Regions from separate parts of the Homo sapiens genome. Here all the other regions are linked to region 1. Evidence: promoter capture Hi-C in 16 types of primary human blood cells and fetal thymus (Javierre and others, 2016). All regions are on one chromosome and are shown on one strand. The core of a region is centred on a gene start or on the middle of the fragment in contact, and the rest is flanking DNA. Distances in the headings are between cores, read along the strand shown. Region 1 holds the start of UBTD2 (ubiquitin domain containing 2). Region 2 overlaps FBXW11 (F-box and WD repeat domain containing 11). Region 3 overlaps FBXW11 (F-box and WD repeat domain containing 11).

Evidence for each region. Contacts are between HindIII fragments. The CHiCAGO score rates a contact against its expected background, and 5 or more counts as called.
Region 2: a contact is called between a fragment that was not itself captured here and the fragment with the promoter of UBTD2 in region 1, in 2 of 17 cell types (non-activated CD4 T cells and total CD8 T cells). The highest score is 6.4, in non-activated CD4 T cells.
Region 3: a fragment that was not itself captured here is called in contact with the fragment with the promoter of UBTD2 in region 1 in 1 of 17 cell types (total CD8 T cells); the score reaches 5.8 in total CD8 T cells.

Annotation. Positions count from the first base shown.
Region 1 is chr5:172,281,846-172,286,864 of GRCh38, reverse strand. It overlaps UBTD2 (ubiquitin domain containing 2), which reads left to right and starts at 3,101. Exons shown (of 3, transcript NM_152277.3): 1 at 3,101-3,269. The coding sequence starts at 3,200. It overlaps LOC100288254 (a long non-coding RNA gene), which reads right to left and starts at 1,268. Exons shown (of 2, transcript NR_130933.1): 1 at 1,110-1,268. RefSeq lists enhancers at 1,824-2,423, 2,424-3,024 and a silencer at 2,599-3,508. The HindIII fragment of the contact is 4,236 bases long and covers 1,843-5,019 here.
Region 2 is chr5:171,884,709-171,889,727 of GRCh38, reverse strand. The region is part of intron 7 of FBXW11 (F-box and WD repeat domain containing 11); the gene reads left to right. Among named protein-coding and RNA genes, the nearest start is that of SMIM23, 100 kb to the right of the region's middle. The HindIII fragment of the contact is 1,578 bases long and covers 2,307-3,884 here.
Region 3 is chr5:171,952,184-171,957,202 of GRCh38, reverse strand. All of the region lies in intron 2 of FBXW11 (F-box and WD repeat domain containing 11), which reads left to right. Among named protein-coding and RNA genes, the nearest start is that of FBXW11, 52 kb to the left of the region's middle. The HindIII fragment of the contact is 6,782 bases long and covers 1-5,019 here.

The sequences.
Region 1 (5,019 bases), core at 1,852-4,351:
CCCAGGTTGGAGTGCAGTGGCAAGATCTCAGCTCACTACAACCTCCGCCCTCCGGGTTCAAGCTATTCTTCTGCCTCAAACTCCCAAGTAGCTGGGACTACAGGTGCGAGCCACCACGCCTGGCTAATTTTTTTTTTTTTTTTTTTTTTTTTGAGATGGAGTCTCGCTCTGTTGCCCAGGCTGGAGTGCAGTGGCGCGATCTCTGCTCACTACAAGCTCCGCCTTCCGGGTTCACGCCATTCTCCTGCCTCAGCCTCCTGAGTAGCTGGGACTACAGGCGCCTGCCACCACGCCCGGCTAATTTTTTGTATTTTTAGTAGAGACGGGGTTTCACCATGTTAGCCAGGATGGTCTCGATCTCCTGACCTTGTGATCCGCCTGCCTCAGCCTCCCAAAATGCTGGGATTACAGGCATGAGGCACCACGCCCAGCCTAATTTTTGTATTTTTAATAGAGATGGGATTTCACCATATTGGCCAGGCTGGCCTCCAACTCCTGACCTCGTGATCCGCCCGCCTCGGCCTCCCAGAGTGCTAGGATTACAGGCATGAACCACCGTGCCCGGCCAAACTTTCTTTTTTCTTTTTTTGAGACAGGGTCTCGCTCTGTCACCCACACTGGAGTGCAGTGGCGCGATCACAGCTTACTGTAGCCTCCACCTCTCTGGATTCAGGTAATTCTCCCACCTCAGCCCCCTGAGTAGCTGGGACTACAGGCGCTCACCACCACGCCCCGCTAATTTTTAAAATTTTTTCGTAGAGACAGGGTCTCCCTATGTTGCTCAGGCTGGTCTGAAACAGCTGGGCTCAAGTGAGCTTCCCACCTCAGCCTCCCAAGGTGCTGGGATCACAGGCGTGAGCCACCATGTCTGGCAGAAACTTCAGACCATATAGCTAGTACACGATGAAAGCCAGATTCCAATCCAGGAAGTTAATCGCCAAGCTGGGGCCCTGACTGCGACACTACTCTGCCTCCTGGGAAATGTGTCTCTAAGATAAAGGCAGGGTGGAGAACATCTATTGCTGAGAATCTCTCCCCGAGATTGCTCTCTCTTCCTAGTGCCAACTCCTCAGTGCTCATCGGAGAGCCCTCATCATTTGGGTGCCTACCATCTGTTTAATAGACATCGTGGAAGTCTTGGTTTCTGCAATTTCTAGAGTGAAATTCAGGACAAAGCAATCTCTTTGCAAATATTCGGCATGCAGCTTCTCTTCTTCAGGGAAGTGATGAAGTGATGTGTCTGCCAACGTGTATAGTTAGTTGAAAATGATCAGACAGAAGGCTTTGTGACACAGCCCCTGATGTCAGAGCAACCTCTGAAAACTCATAATAACATCGATGGCATAAGCTCTTTTTGGAATGTTCAGGACCACAACTGAGGACAATACTAATTCTTCAGGATGAGTTTAATATAGCAGATTTCTATATCTCACGACATTTCTGTGTTTTAACCTAAGTGTAGGTTTTGCTTGTCTACTGTCTTTTTATCAAATGAATACAGAGATCTAAATCTTTGTATAATAGCTTGATCTATTTCTGTGAGCTAGATTTCCAGATGTGGAATAATCCCGAGTCAAAGGATATGAACATTTTTAAGGCTCTTGATCTGCATTGCCAAATTGCTTTGCAAAAAAGATTGAACCAATTTACACTCCCACCAGCAATGTATGAGAATATATTTAAATGCAAATCCCAAGCTGCAGAGCATCTCTTTCTTAGGTATTTCAACTTAAAAAATTTTTTTTCGTGCTAAGCAAAAGCTGACCCAGGATGTTAAAAAAAGAAAGTCTGATATAAAAATGGAGCAGATAGTTAAAACAGCTTCTTAGGCAGAAATAAGCTTTAGAAAGTCCCAAGCAGGATGATAACAATTTTAAGGCATCATAGCACGAAGCACAATTCTAAAGGGACCATTAACAATTTGGCTGAGATTGGAAAAGTAACCGCCAAGAATGTTGGGCGTGGTCAATGTCCCAAATTCTAGATTCGAAAAGGCAGGGTGTTTCACTCATTTACACTTCACTTTGGCCTAAGGACGATTTAAGATACCCAAAGGCAGGATCTTGATAAGTAGTATTGTTTGAATCATTAATCCCGTGAAAATGAAAGAAACCCACGCCCCCTGAACTAAGGTCAGCGTTTATCTCTTCTTTCCAGGCGTTCCATCAGGACGCCTCGCCTCTAATCTCAGTTTGGTTTGCCACAACCACTGCCTCCACCCCTAATAATGGGGCCCCATGATTTTAGGGAAGACGGGGGTGGGCAGGCAAGAGGAAGCCCAGATTCGGGGTACCAACCCACGGAGCGCCATACAAATTCAAAGGGCGCTGGGACCTCAACGTTCGGCCAGGACACTCTCCCCCGAGCCCCCGTTATTTGGGAAACCGCCCCGTCCCCGCCTGCGAGTCTTCCACGACTACTTCTCGGTTCCCCCGTGCGACCCGCTTCCACCAGCAAGAAGGAGCCGACGGCCGAGGAGCCAGGAACTCGATTTCGCCCCTTCCCACTCCTCTTTTCTCACTTTTGTTCGGCTTTTTCCTGCTTTCCCTCCCTTCTTCCCTCTCCTTTCTTCTTCCCGTCCTCCCTCTCTCCTCCTCCCCTCGCCTCCAGTCCTCCCCCCGCCTGCAGTCCTCCCCCCACCTAGCCCCCTGCGTCCCCTCCCCCGCCTCACCCTCGCCCCGCTCCGCTCGCAGCCCCGCCCGCAGCCAATCAGAGCGCGGCCTCCGGTGGCCCCGCCCTTCTCCGGCGATTCCGGGCGGGCCGGGCCGAGCCCAGGCCGTGGGTGCGGAGGGCGGCGCCGCGGGCCGGGGGCCGATGGGTCCTGGCGGACGCGAGGCGCCGGCGCGGGGCTCGCCTGGACTCGGGTGTGCGGGGCTGTGAGGGGGCGAGGCGGGCGCTGCGGCCCGCCCGGGATGGGCCAGCCCTGGCCTGGCGGGGCTGAGCCGAAGGCGAGGGCGGCGCGCGGGCCAGGCCTGCCGGGCGGGCGGCCCGGGGGTTGAGGTAGAAGTGGGCGCGGAGGAAGGGGCCGAGCCAAGGCGGTGGGTGGAGCGGCGAGGGGGGCGGAGGCTGGGCCGCGGCGGGCGAGCGGAGCGGCGCGCCTGTCCGGAGCTCGGCGGTGGCGCCGGAGGAGGCTGCAGCGGCGGCGGCGGCGGGCCCGGACGAGCGTCCGGAGGTGGCGGACGAGGCGCCGGGGGCCCCCATGGGCGGGTGTGTGGGCGCCCAGCACGACTCCTCGGGCAGCCTCAACGAGAACTCGGAGGGCACCGGAGGTAGGTGAGCGCCAGGGGGCAGCCTCGGCCCCCCATTGTTCCCGGCCAGGCCCGGCCACCTGTCCCGACCCCCGCGGGCCGCGCCGGGCCCCCGCGCCCCTTTGTCATCCCCTCTTCCACGTCATTCCCCGCGCTCCGCTTCCGGCTGTCCTGCCAGCCGCGGGGGTCGCCCCTTCCCGCCCCAGCCCTGAAGAAAAGTCCTCTGAGCGCCGGGGACGTAGCCCTTGGCCTCGCCGACCGCCCCGCTCGGCTCGGGGAAGTCGGACCCGAAGCTGCCCTTCTGGCCACCTCACTCCCTCTCCAGGCCGTTTAATTATTGAGGATCAGGATGGCGGCGCCGGGGTTGCAGAAAAGCGAATTGATGGCGGGGGGAGGGAGCTTGATGCGTTCCCTCCGACGGGCCCCGCCACATCTTTCCGCACCCTTCCTTGTTCTGTGGAGTTGGCTGGTCTCAGCTTTCCTGAGTTTCAGATGACAGCTGCCCCGGTTGGTTCCAGATTGGCCATTTAAACCTGCGAGTTTCTGGAGCTCGGCTGGAGGAGTCTCCAGTGGCCGCAGGCATTGTATTAAGGAGGGGTGGGGAAACGGTCTTCCCGGGTAAAACGTGGCTCCTAGCTAGAGCTTGGGGGTGTTAGGCCGGTGTGCTGTCGGGGTGGGCTAATCACATTCCCATCTGTCTTACGTAGAAGGAAAATATGTAGGATAAAAGTACAAGTGCAGTTGGACCCTGACTTACCCCACCCAGTAAGATCAGTACTTTAAAAGTTTTCTAACACGGGAACGCACTCCTACTTTATAGTAAAAGCGTGCTGAGGATAGGTATTTTAATTCAATCAGTAGTAGTTGTAGTATGGCAGTATAATAATAAAATTAGTTCTATCTTTATTTAAGTGACCTTTGGTTACGTCCATTCTGTAGAATATTTTAGTGATAAACAGCCTTTAGGCAAAGATGACAGCGTTGGTTTGATTTGTGACCTAATGTTAGCTGCCTTAAAATGTGCATGTCTGTAAATTTTTAAATTGTTTGGGTATGGGAGGGTTTACAACTTTTTCGTAGCATACTAACATTTAGACCAGTTGCTTGCCCTGTCACTTAAGCTCTCTTCACAAACCATGTACACCTAAGTTTTTTGGCTAATGGATTTCCTGAATTCCATGATGGTTAGCCATGCCACTTTATTAAAATCTGTGGGTATCCTGTATGACTAAATCCTGGGTAAATAACTTGAGAACTCAGTGGAAGTTGTCTTGAAAAAGTCCATGAAAATGCTACTTTATAGTGTATTTTATGTCGTAGCATTATTACTGGCATATTGAGATCCTCAGTGACAACAAAGCAGGAAGATAAAAAGGGCACGATTTAAAACAGCCTTGGGTTAAGGTGAAATTGAAGGATCAAAATGAATCTTCCTCTAATTGTGTTGATCATTAATGATTCTGAAATATATTAGTATTTGTTATCGCTAGTGTTTAGTTTTAATTAAATTTTTTTCACACTCATTTTAATATTGTCATAAGCATTTTGCTCTTCTCCGTAATGTATGTGGATTAATTTATTTAAGCCTTTTGGTAGTGTGACTTATGACCAGACAGGCATTATTAATATGGGCTTTAAAAAGCGTGAAATCTTAGCTTTGGGTAATTTATTACCGGTGGTATCCAGTTAGATAGCTATAGTATCAGTTTCTTTGAGGACTGAGTTCTCTGGACCGTAAGCTCTGCTGTACATGAAGTTTAGAAAAAGGAAC
Region 2 (5,019 bases), core at 1,846-4,345, 400 kb after region 1:
TTTATTAGAGACAGGGTTTCTCCATGTTGGTCAGGCTGGTCTCAAACTCCCGACTTTAGGTGATCCACCTGCCCCGGCCTCCCAAAGTGCCCCGATTACAGGCGTAAACCACCATGCCTGGCCGTCTTTTCATTTTCTCATTTTCTTAATGATCTCTTTAATGGAGCAAAAGATTTTAATTTTTTTTTTTTTTTTTTTTTGAGATGGAGTCTCACTCTGTCACCCAGGCTGGAGTGCAGTGGCATGATCTCGGCTCACTGCAACCTCCACCTCCTGGGTTCAAGCAATACTTGTGCCTTAGCCTCCCAAATAGCTGGGACTACAGGCATGAGCCACCATGCCCAGCTAATTTTTGTATTTTTAGTGGAGACGGGGTTTCACCATGTTGACCCGGCTGGTCTTGAACTCCTGGCCTCAGGTGATCTGCCTACCTTGGCCTCCCAAAGTGCTGAGATTACAGGCGTGAGCCACTGTACTTGACAGAAGATTTTAATTTTGATGAAGTCCAACTTACCAGTTTTTTCTTTTATGGATCATGCTTTCGATATTATATCCAAGAAGCCTTTCTCTGAGCTTCATGAATGTGTAAATTTACGTCTTTCATTCATTACATTTCAGAAGTCTTCAGCCATTATTTTTTCAAATATTTTTTTCTGTACCAATTTCTCCTTTCCTTCTGAGACTCTAATCACATAAATACTATATCTTTTGATATTGTTCCACATTGTTTTCAATCTTTGTTCCTCCCTTTTCTGGATAATTTCTATTGGCCTATCTTCAAGTTGACTGAATTTTTCATCTCTTCATCTCTATTCTCCTGTTACCCTCCGCCCCATCAAGTGAGTTTTTAATTTCAGGTATGATATTTTACAGTTTCTATTTCTCTGCTGAGAATTCTCTCTTTTTTATTTACCTCAAGCACGTTTATCTTTATCCTGTGGAGTATAGAGTAGGTGCTTAACATCTTTAACCATGTCAGCATCTGGGTAACCTCCAGCTTGACATCTGTTGATTGTCCAGTCCCCTGAGATTGTTCATCTTTCTTGATTTTTGTATGCCAGGTAATTTAAACTAGTATTTTGGGCATTGTGGATATTATGTTGTAAAGACTGTGGGTCCTGTTATAATCCTCTGGACAATGTTTTTGGGTAAGTGTGTTTTTAAGCAGTTAGTCAACTTAGTTGGGTTCAGAACACAAGTTCTGTCTTGACATCATCAGAGGGGTTGCGGGGATGGCTCTAATCTCTTTTCCACTGTTCAAAGCCTTTGCAATATGCCACTTTGCGTCTGTCATGGGCTTTCACTACTTAGAGGTTAATCTGAGGCTTCAGCAGTGCTTTAAATATCAGCTCATTGAGACAGCCTTTGCTGTGCTGGTTCAGTCTGTTCTGCGCATATACAGCTCAAGGGTAAGCCCAAGTCATGTGTTGTTTGGGTTCTTTTATTTCCAGTTCTTTCCTCTTGGATTTCCCTAAGTCTCTTCAGCCCATAAGGACACTTTTTTCCTTTTCCTCTGGCCAGAAAAATTGGGTCACTCTTGGAATTTTTTTATCTTTTCCATTGTTCTGCAGTGTGTCGTCATGACTGGAGCCATGAGCCCTGTGAGAGAAGAGAGAAAAGAAACCCCCAGGGATCTCTTTTTTTCCAGCCCCTCTGCCTAGAGGGATTTCTTTCAGAATTTTAGCTGCATGTTTTGCTATTTCACTGTATAGCTTCCTGGTCAAGGGCCTGCCTTTGAGCAAAAGCCACAGAAGGAAGAAAAGAGAAAAAGCCGGGTGTGGTGGCTCATGCCTGTAATCCCAGCACTTTGGGAGGCTGAGGCGGGTGGATCACTTGAGGCCAGGAGTTCAAGACCAGCCTGGCCAACATGGTGAAACCCTGTCACTACTAAAAATACAAAAAATTAGCTGGGCGTGGTGGTGGGCACCTGTAATCCCAGATACTCGGGAGGCTGAGGCATGAGAATTGCTTGAACCCAGGAGGCAGAGGTTGCAGTGAGCCAGGATCACACCACTGCAATTCAGAGCAAGACTCTGTCTCAATAAAAAATAAAAAAAAAAAGAAAGAAAACAGAAAACAACAAAGAAAAATAATGGCAAATTCACCCCCATGCAGATTGTTTCTTCACATTTTGACCCCTTGCCACATCTACCTGTTGTCCCCTCTTTCCCCTTACTTTTCAGAGTTCTTAACTAGTTTTTATCAGGAGTGTTTAGTTATAATCAACTGGAGAGATAGATTGTAGTGGGCTTTCTCCATCTTGGCCCTGTTTTCTGTTATTGTTCTATTTTGGGTGAAATAAAGCTTTTCTGCTTTTTTTTTTAATTTTTATTTTTTGTTTGTTTTTTAAAAAGTGAAATAGTGGAATTTTAGTAATTCAGCTACCTAGGTCAAACGCACTCTGAATTATAGAATATAAGAAACTGTTCTGTTGGTTTCCTATATGTATGGCAGTGTTTGCCAAAAGATATTCTGTGGATGTGAATCTAGAGGATGTTGGCAGGCATTCTAGGCAGAGAATAATAATGCCCTCCAAGGAAGTTTAGATAACACTGCATGCTGTGTCTCCAGCTTAGAAATTCACAGGATACAGTAGCATATAAAGGCTCTGAGAATGCCTACAATAGAGACAGACACCCAGTGTTTCCCAAGTTCCAAAACTTATTTGACCACGGAACTCTATTTTTAATTTTTTTTTTCTTACTTTTTGAGACAGAGTCTCGCTCTGTCACCCTGGCTGGAGTGCAGTGGCATGATTTCGGCTCACTGCAACCTCCACCTCCTGGGTTCAAGTGAGCGATTCTCCTCCCTCAGCCTCCTGAGTAGCTGGGACTACAGGTGCCTGCCACCAGGCCTGGCTAATTTTTTGTGTTTTTAGTAGAGATGAGGTTTCGCTATGCTGGCCAGGCTGGTCTCAAACTCTTGACCTCAAATGATCCTCCTGCCTCGGCCTACCAAAGTGCTGAGATTACAGGTGTAAGCCACTGCTCCTGGCCCACCGAACTCTATTTTTATATATACTTGATAGCCCTAACCTGTGGCTACCAGTATACTCTAGAAAGTGTGACATATGCTACTATTTAATACTGGTGGTTTTTCTTTTTTTCTATCAATATATCGTTTTATTTTATTATTTATTTATTTATTTATTTTTTATTATACTTTAAGTTTTAGGGTACATGTGCACAACGTGCAGGTTTGTTACATATGTATACATGTGCCATGTTGGTGTGCTGCACCCATTAACTCTTCGTTTAACATTAGGTATATCTCCTAATGCTATCCCTCCCCCCTCCCCCAACCCCACAACAGGCCCCAGTGTGTGATGTTCCCCTTCCTGTGTCCAGGTGTTCTCATTGTTCAATTCCCACCTATGAGTGAGAACATGCGGTGTTTGGTTTTTTGTCCTTGCGATAGTTTGCTGAGAATGATGGTTTCCAGCTTCATCCATGTCCCTGCAAAGGACATGAACTCATCATTTTTTATGGCTGCATAGTATTCCATTTTCTTAATCCAGTCTATCATTGTTGGACATTTGGGTTGGTTCCAAGTCTTTGCTATTGTGAATAGTGCTGCAATAATACTGGTAGTTTTTCTTTAAGGAATAGTTAAGAATGGTTTATAACAACTTTGTCAAAGCATAGTCTGGCTGTGGGCTTGGAATTCATTTACACTAGATGTGTTTTCTGAAGAATTCTCTTAATTGTGGCACATCCATTTGACTTAATAAGACATAGAATAGTAGAGCAGAAGTGCGCTTTGAAGAGATTATCTAGACCAGTGGTTGGAAACCTTTTTTTTGCTCTATTCTGCACCAATCCTTGATCACTAATCACTTTAAAAAATAACTCAGGTTCCATTAGGTCAGAAGTTAAAAGCAAGCTTTGCTATTGTAGATATTATATTTCAGTGTCTACCTCATTTATAAAATCTTGTTCACTTGCAGTAAACTGTAGAGTCACTACAAATTATGATAGTATTGTACATGTCAAGAAATAGGTGCACAGAGTCTATTTTAAATAGTTCAATCTTTGAAAACATTCTCATCTCCCATTAAATATCAACAATATTGTTAACTTGGGAACACTGGAAAGATTAAAAGAAGGGAGTGGGTTTGGTACGTAAGAAGTTGCTACTTGTCCTGACAACAAGTAAAAATCTGAACAAACTGAAAAATCAACCATTCTACTTAGATTCATAAGAGAAGTGAGGTCACAGGAGAAGCTGCTGCCCCACAAATTGGAGAGACAGGCAAATACAGAGAATCATAACTCACTGGAGCAGAAACATCCGGGAGAACCAGTGCCTGGGTAGGGTAACCTGAACCGTAATTGAAAAATTGCTGGAGGCTCAGTGTGGGACAAGTCTGAGAAATATAAACTGAGGAGGACCCAGTCATCAGGCTCCCCACCACACTTTTGTGAGTTTTACCTGCAAGAGCTCTACCAGATTCTCTCAGTGATTATCCCAGAAAAATCTCCTTGTGTTTCCAGCAGCGGGAAGGGAAAAGAAACTTTTAAAACTATACTAGGTTATTCTGTACTTCTTGATAAGGTCTACCTTCAGTAGAAACTGCTTAGCCAGAGCCTAAAGTGCTGAGATTTTATAGAACCTGACTGACCTGGGGAAGGGAAATACACAACTCCAGCCCCCTCATCCATTTGGTCACGCATAAAGGGGTGAGGAAGAACTGAGAAGTACTTGTGAAGTCTAGAGGTATAGGCTCACTAAAAGACTCAGACCTAGTCATGGAACTATAGAACGCTTCCCTTCTTGAAGGCCTGTTTATAGCATTTCCTTTTGATTAATGTACACAAATCAGTAGCTCTTCTGTAAACCAACAGTGACCAGGAGGAGAATCACATCAAGAACTCAACCTCTTTTACAATAGCTGCAAAAAAATAACATACTTAGGAATATACCTAATCAAGGAGTCAAAAGACCTCTACAAGGAAAACTACAAAACACTGCTGAAAGAAATCATAGATGACACGAACAAATGGAAACACATCCCATGCT
Region 3 (5,019 bases), core at 773-3,272, 330 kb after region 1:
ATCCTTTTGGCTTGCTTTCTCTCCCCTCTTCAAAAAAGGAGCGGGGAGGGAATCACTACTGGCATAAAGCCTCAAACTGAAGTTTATAAAGATCATAGCTTTATGCTGCCAATAATTTGTCAGTTTGGGCCACCTCCCAAAGGCCAGATCTGACACCTGTCCTCAGGGTCCACCCAGTTTTCCAGGCCGAGGCCGGCAGAGAATTCCACAGATAAAAGTAAAACTTTTTGGGGGTGGATGGGAAAGGGTTGCTCAGGATAGAACTGTTAGCAGGAGTGCAGCTGGTGACCCTCTCTTGTTGGGGTGGCTTCTAAGAGAGCCAAGGAAGAAAACATTGTAGCTTTATTTCTGAAGCTCTGAGCAAGCATGTGTTTAATTAAATATGGTTTCAGTAGCAATATTCAGTTTTCATCACTGCATATTCCAGACAGTTTGATATATCTTTGAAAAGCCATATTAAATTCCTGGCATCTGGTTGAGACTGTCCTGTTTGAGGAAAACTGCAAAATTAGGCACTGAGTTAGAGGGATATTATTGATGGCATGGGTGACTTTGCTGTTCTCAAGTTTATCTTTCTATTCATGTTTACAATTTTTAAATGGAGCTGGGGAGCCAGGAAGGAGGAAAATGTTCTTCATATTGGAGTCAGGCATTTTATTTACTTATTGGCAAACATTCAGAGTAGCACTGGTGTGGTTATTGATTCAAATTGCTTTCTTTGGGGAACTGTACTGGAACCTCACTAACACAGTTAACTGGAGAGCGAGTTCAATATAAGGCCCAGTTGTCTTTAGATTCTGTATATAAAGGTGGGTTACAAGTCTCACCTTACAAGAACAGGATGCTTCAGTGAGGCTCAGTGTAATGAATATATGTTTACTTTTGGAAAAGCAGCTTCTGTGCATGCGATGTAACTTTTAACAAAAATGTTCTTGGAATGGCAGCCATTATTGCATGTGCTCTCCTTGATGCTGTATAATGGATATTTGCGTTATTATAATAGGTGTATAATAGGTGTATTATAATAGGTGTATTTTTGTCTCTATTTTTCTGGATTAAAAGGAATGTTACAGTTGCTTTTTAGTGGGCTGACCGAGTTTTTTCCAGAACTGGAAATTTAAGAGGGGGAAAAATTGTAGTTGTTAGTGAGGTCTTGAAGTGCGGATTCTTTTTATTGCATTCAGTTAAAAGTAATTGGCCAATGGAAGGCATCATTCAATATATTTTAGTAACAGTATTGTGAGTTCTCTGGAGGTGGGGTGAGTGGGAGGAGGTACACGGGTTCCTACCTTGTTGAAAATGGAAATCCAAATTTGTTAAAAGTTCCTTGACTCATCTTTCTTAGTGAAATTCACTTAAGAAGGAAAAAAAGATTTTTTTTTTTTTGCCTTGATTGGGTCTTATTTCAGTGAGTGGAGCAATATTGTCTTTAGAGACGTGTAGAGTATTCTGTTTACTTAGGTTTAATTTTTGCTAGTATATAATTGAGGGTATGCAGCATAGTAAAATGAACTAAGTACTCAGCTCATTGGCATTAGCAAATCATTACTCTGTTTTGTCCCACATGTGAATGGAAAGTAAACATGTATTAATATTAATGAGCCTGGAAGACTTCCTTCCTCTGTACTCATTTAAGTATTATTTTAATGCCAACATTTCTCCCCTTTACCTCCAGTCTCCAAACAGTGCTAAAATTTCGTGCCTTAATTTGGGTTTGGGCTCTCAAAGAAGGCCTGTTGCTTATATGCTGCATCTTTGGTTTATTGCAAAGATGACTCTTCCTTTGCACACCTTTTAGCAACCTCATATTAGAGCAGGCCTGAGAAGGGAAGGAATAGTTAGGCTACCTGGAGAGAACAGAGCCTGGTTCTTTCCTGGTCTCTGAAGTTCCATGAAAGAGTCCCCCTTAAAATTGTCAGAGTGGACCCACTGATAATTGCAACTTGAGCCCATTGACCTGTCTATATGGCTGAATTTTAGTTTACCTTTCGAAAAAGCCGGAGGGAAGATAGTAGTTGCCCTTAGGCATAATTTACCCATTCCGGAAGTTTCTACCATCGTCTAGAAGGGAAAACAGGTATCAGAGACTTAAAAATCACTCATTACCAACTGTTACATGGTGCTTCACATATATTAGCTTTATGACAACCCTGTGAAGTAGGTGTTCTTATCTCCAATTTTCTGATATGGAAACTGAGTCTGACGTGACTATTTGGCCCAAGATAATGTTTACATAACTGTAAAGTTACTGGCATATGAATCACACACTTGCCTGATTCCCAAACTGGTTTTCTTTCCTCTACTCTGGAATGCTGCTTTTGTAGTTTTCCATGTTGGTTTTATTTGTAGAAACCTCACTATTGACACCTGGTATATGGTTTGTTTAGTTATTAATATTATTTGAAAATAAGAAAAGAAAAACCTGCCAAATTCTGTAGAAAAAAAAAGTTGCCATTCTTTTTGCCAAAATGAGCCCTCCTGAATCTTACAGCTAGTGAGGTTCCTGAGTGGACTTTCTGCAAACTTAATTCCATAAATATTTACTGAGCAATTGGTATGTGCCAGGGCCTCTATTGGTTATCTCTCAACCAAGCTGAACTGAGTCAGTGTTTCATTTGCCTCAGATGTCCTGATTCAACCAGTTGATTGTTATAGCAAATAATCAGGAATTCAGACCATGTGGATTATTGATTTGCCCAGATTCCTGTGGCATGAGAATCATACCAATGTTAATAATAGTATGTATCATTTATTTTCCACGTTCTTTCTATGTGTTGGACTCTAGGAATTGGATTATCTCATTTGATCTTTTATGGAAAAGTTATCTACCTTGCCATTTTTGTATATGAAATTATAGAGGTGAATTGACCTGCCTAAGGTTACACATTTATTTAAGTGGCAGAACTGGGTTAGGAACATAATCTGGATGACTGCAAAGCCAGTGCTCTAGTCACCAGTCTGTAGTGACAACTGCCATTTTAACTTGCAACTGCCATTTTTAGGTTGAAACAAATTCCCCTTAATTTTTGGAGTTAAAAATTTAAAGCCAACACAGCAGCATGATGTAATAGACTGGCAAGTTGTCTTGGGAATGTCATTTGCAGCCTCAGCTGGGGGAGAGTGTTAGTGATAAGCCTTTTGCTGGGGTAGGACTGATTGCTTGGAATGACAGTGAGGATCACGTGAATTGAGTTTGAGTGCCTCCTTCCAAGCTCTAGTGCATATAGTGCTGGGCAGTAAGTAGCACAACTTCTTGACAGCTGCCTTTCTTGTTTCTTTTTTTACTTTTAATAGGTGTAGTGAGCCACAGTGGTCTGAGAATGCCACAGAACTTATCATAGCTTTTGATATAAGAGAATATTTTTTAGAGGAGGGAGATAGCTTGGTAGAAAGAACCCTGGCTTTGGTGCAGACAAACCTCTATTCTAGTCCTGTTCCTACTACTTAATGACTTTGTGATACTGGGCAAGTTACTTTATTTTCCCGAACCCCTGTTTCCTCATCTTTAAAAATCATAAAGGGTTTTTATGAGGTAGAGAAAGATAATTGCCACCTCTTACTGATTCTTACTCTTGGGGGGTATGAAATCCATTTTTTAAATTTACTTGCTCCTGGTTCTCCATGTAAGAAGGAATTTCAGTCTTAGATTCCAGGGCTAGGTAAGGATTAGCTAAAAGACCATGCATATGATAAGGCTGTTTTTGTTCAGGGTCGGTCTGTCTAAGGTCAGACATGGCTGTTTGAATTCATTGCCTCTTGTCTGTTTTCTAATAAGCATTAGGGATTTGTCATTTCTTGTTGATTATCTTAATTATCCTATAGCACTCTGGGTCTGATAATGTGAACGTTTTGGGTTGCTCAGTGGTAGAATCTGTAGTATTTTATAGACACTAAAACCTACATTTTTGGCTGAGCATGGTCGCTTACCCCTATAATTCCAGTGCTTTGTGAGGCCCAGGTGGGAGGATTGCTTGAGGGCAGGAGTTTGAGACCAGCCTTCGCAACATAGCAAGGCCCTACAAACATTTTATTTTTGTATTTTGTCTCTACAAAACAAAATAAAAAATTAGGTGGACATGGTGGCATGTGCCTGTAGTCCTAGCTACTCTGGGAGCTGAGGTTGGGGAATCCCTTGAGCCCAGGAGTTGGAGGTTACAGTGAGCTATGATCACACCACTGCACTCCAGCCTGGGTGACAGAGCAAGAACCTTGTCTCTAAAACAGGGGTGTCCAATCTTTTGTCTTCCCTGGACCACATTGGAAGAAGAATTGTCTTGGACTACACATAAAATTACACTAACACTAACGATAGCTGATGAGCTAAAAAAAAAAATTGCGAAAGAAAAAAAATCTCATAATATTTTAAGAAAGTTTACGAATTTGTGTTGGGCCTCATTCAAAGCCGTCCTGGGGGCCTGCAGGCCACGGGTTTGCTCTAAAAAATATATAAATAGGCTGGGCGCGGTGGCTCACGCCAGTAATCCCAGCAATTTGGGAGGCCGAGGTGGGCGGATCACTTGAGGTCAGGTCAAGACCAGCCTGGCCAACATGGTGAAACCCTGTCTCTACTAAAAATACAAAAAGTAGCTGGGCATGATGATGGGCGCCTGTAATCCTAGCTACTTGGGAGGCTGAGGCAGGAGAATTGCTTGAACCCAGGAGGTGGCGGCTGCAGTGAGCCGAGATTGTACCACTGCACTCCAGCCTGGGTGACAGAGGGAGACTCCGTCTCAAAAAAAAAAAAAAAAAAAAAAATATATATATATATATATATATATATGTATGTACACACAACACACACACACATATACACACACATATATGTGTATGTATATATGGTTAAAAAAAACCACATCTTTCCTCTTTATAAGAAAATTTACGAAATAGACTTTGAAAAAGAAGAAAACGTCCATTGGTAGCGTGAGCATCTACCACCCAGAGAGAACATTTGTTGCTATTTTAGGGCCTTACTTCCTCCTGTCTGTTCGGTAGGGAGGAATCCATCAAATTGTGCAGTGT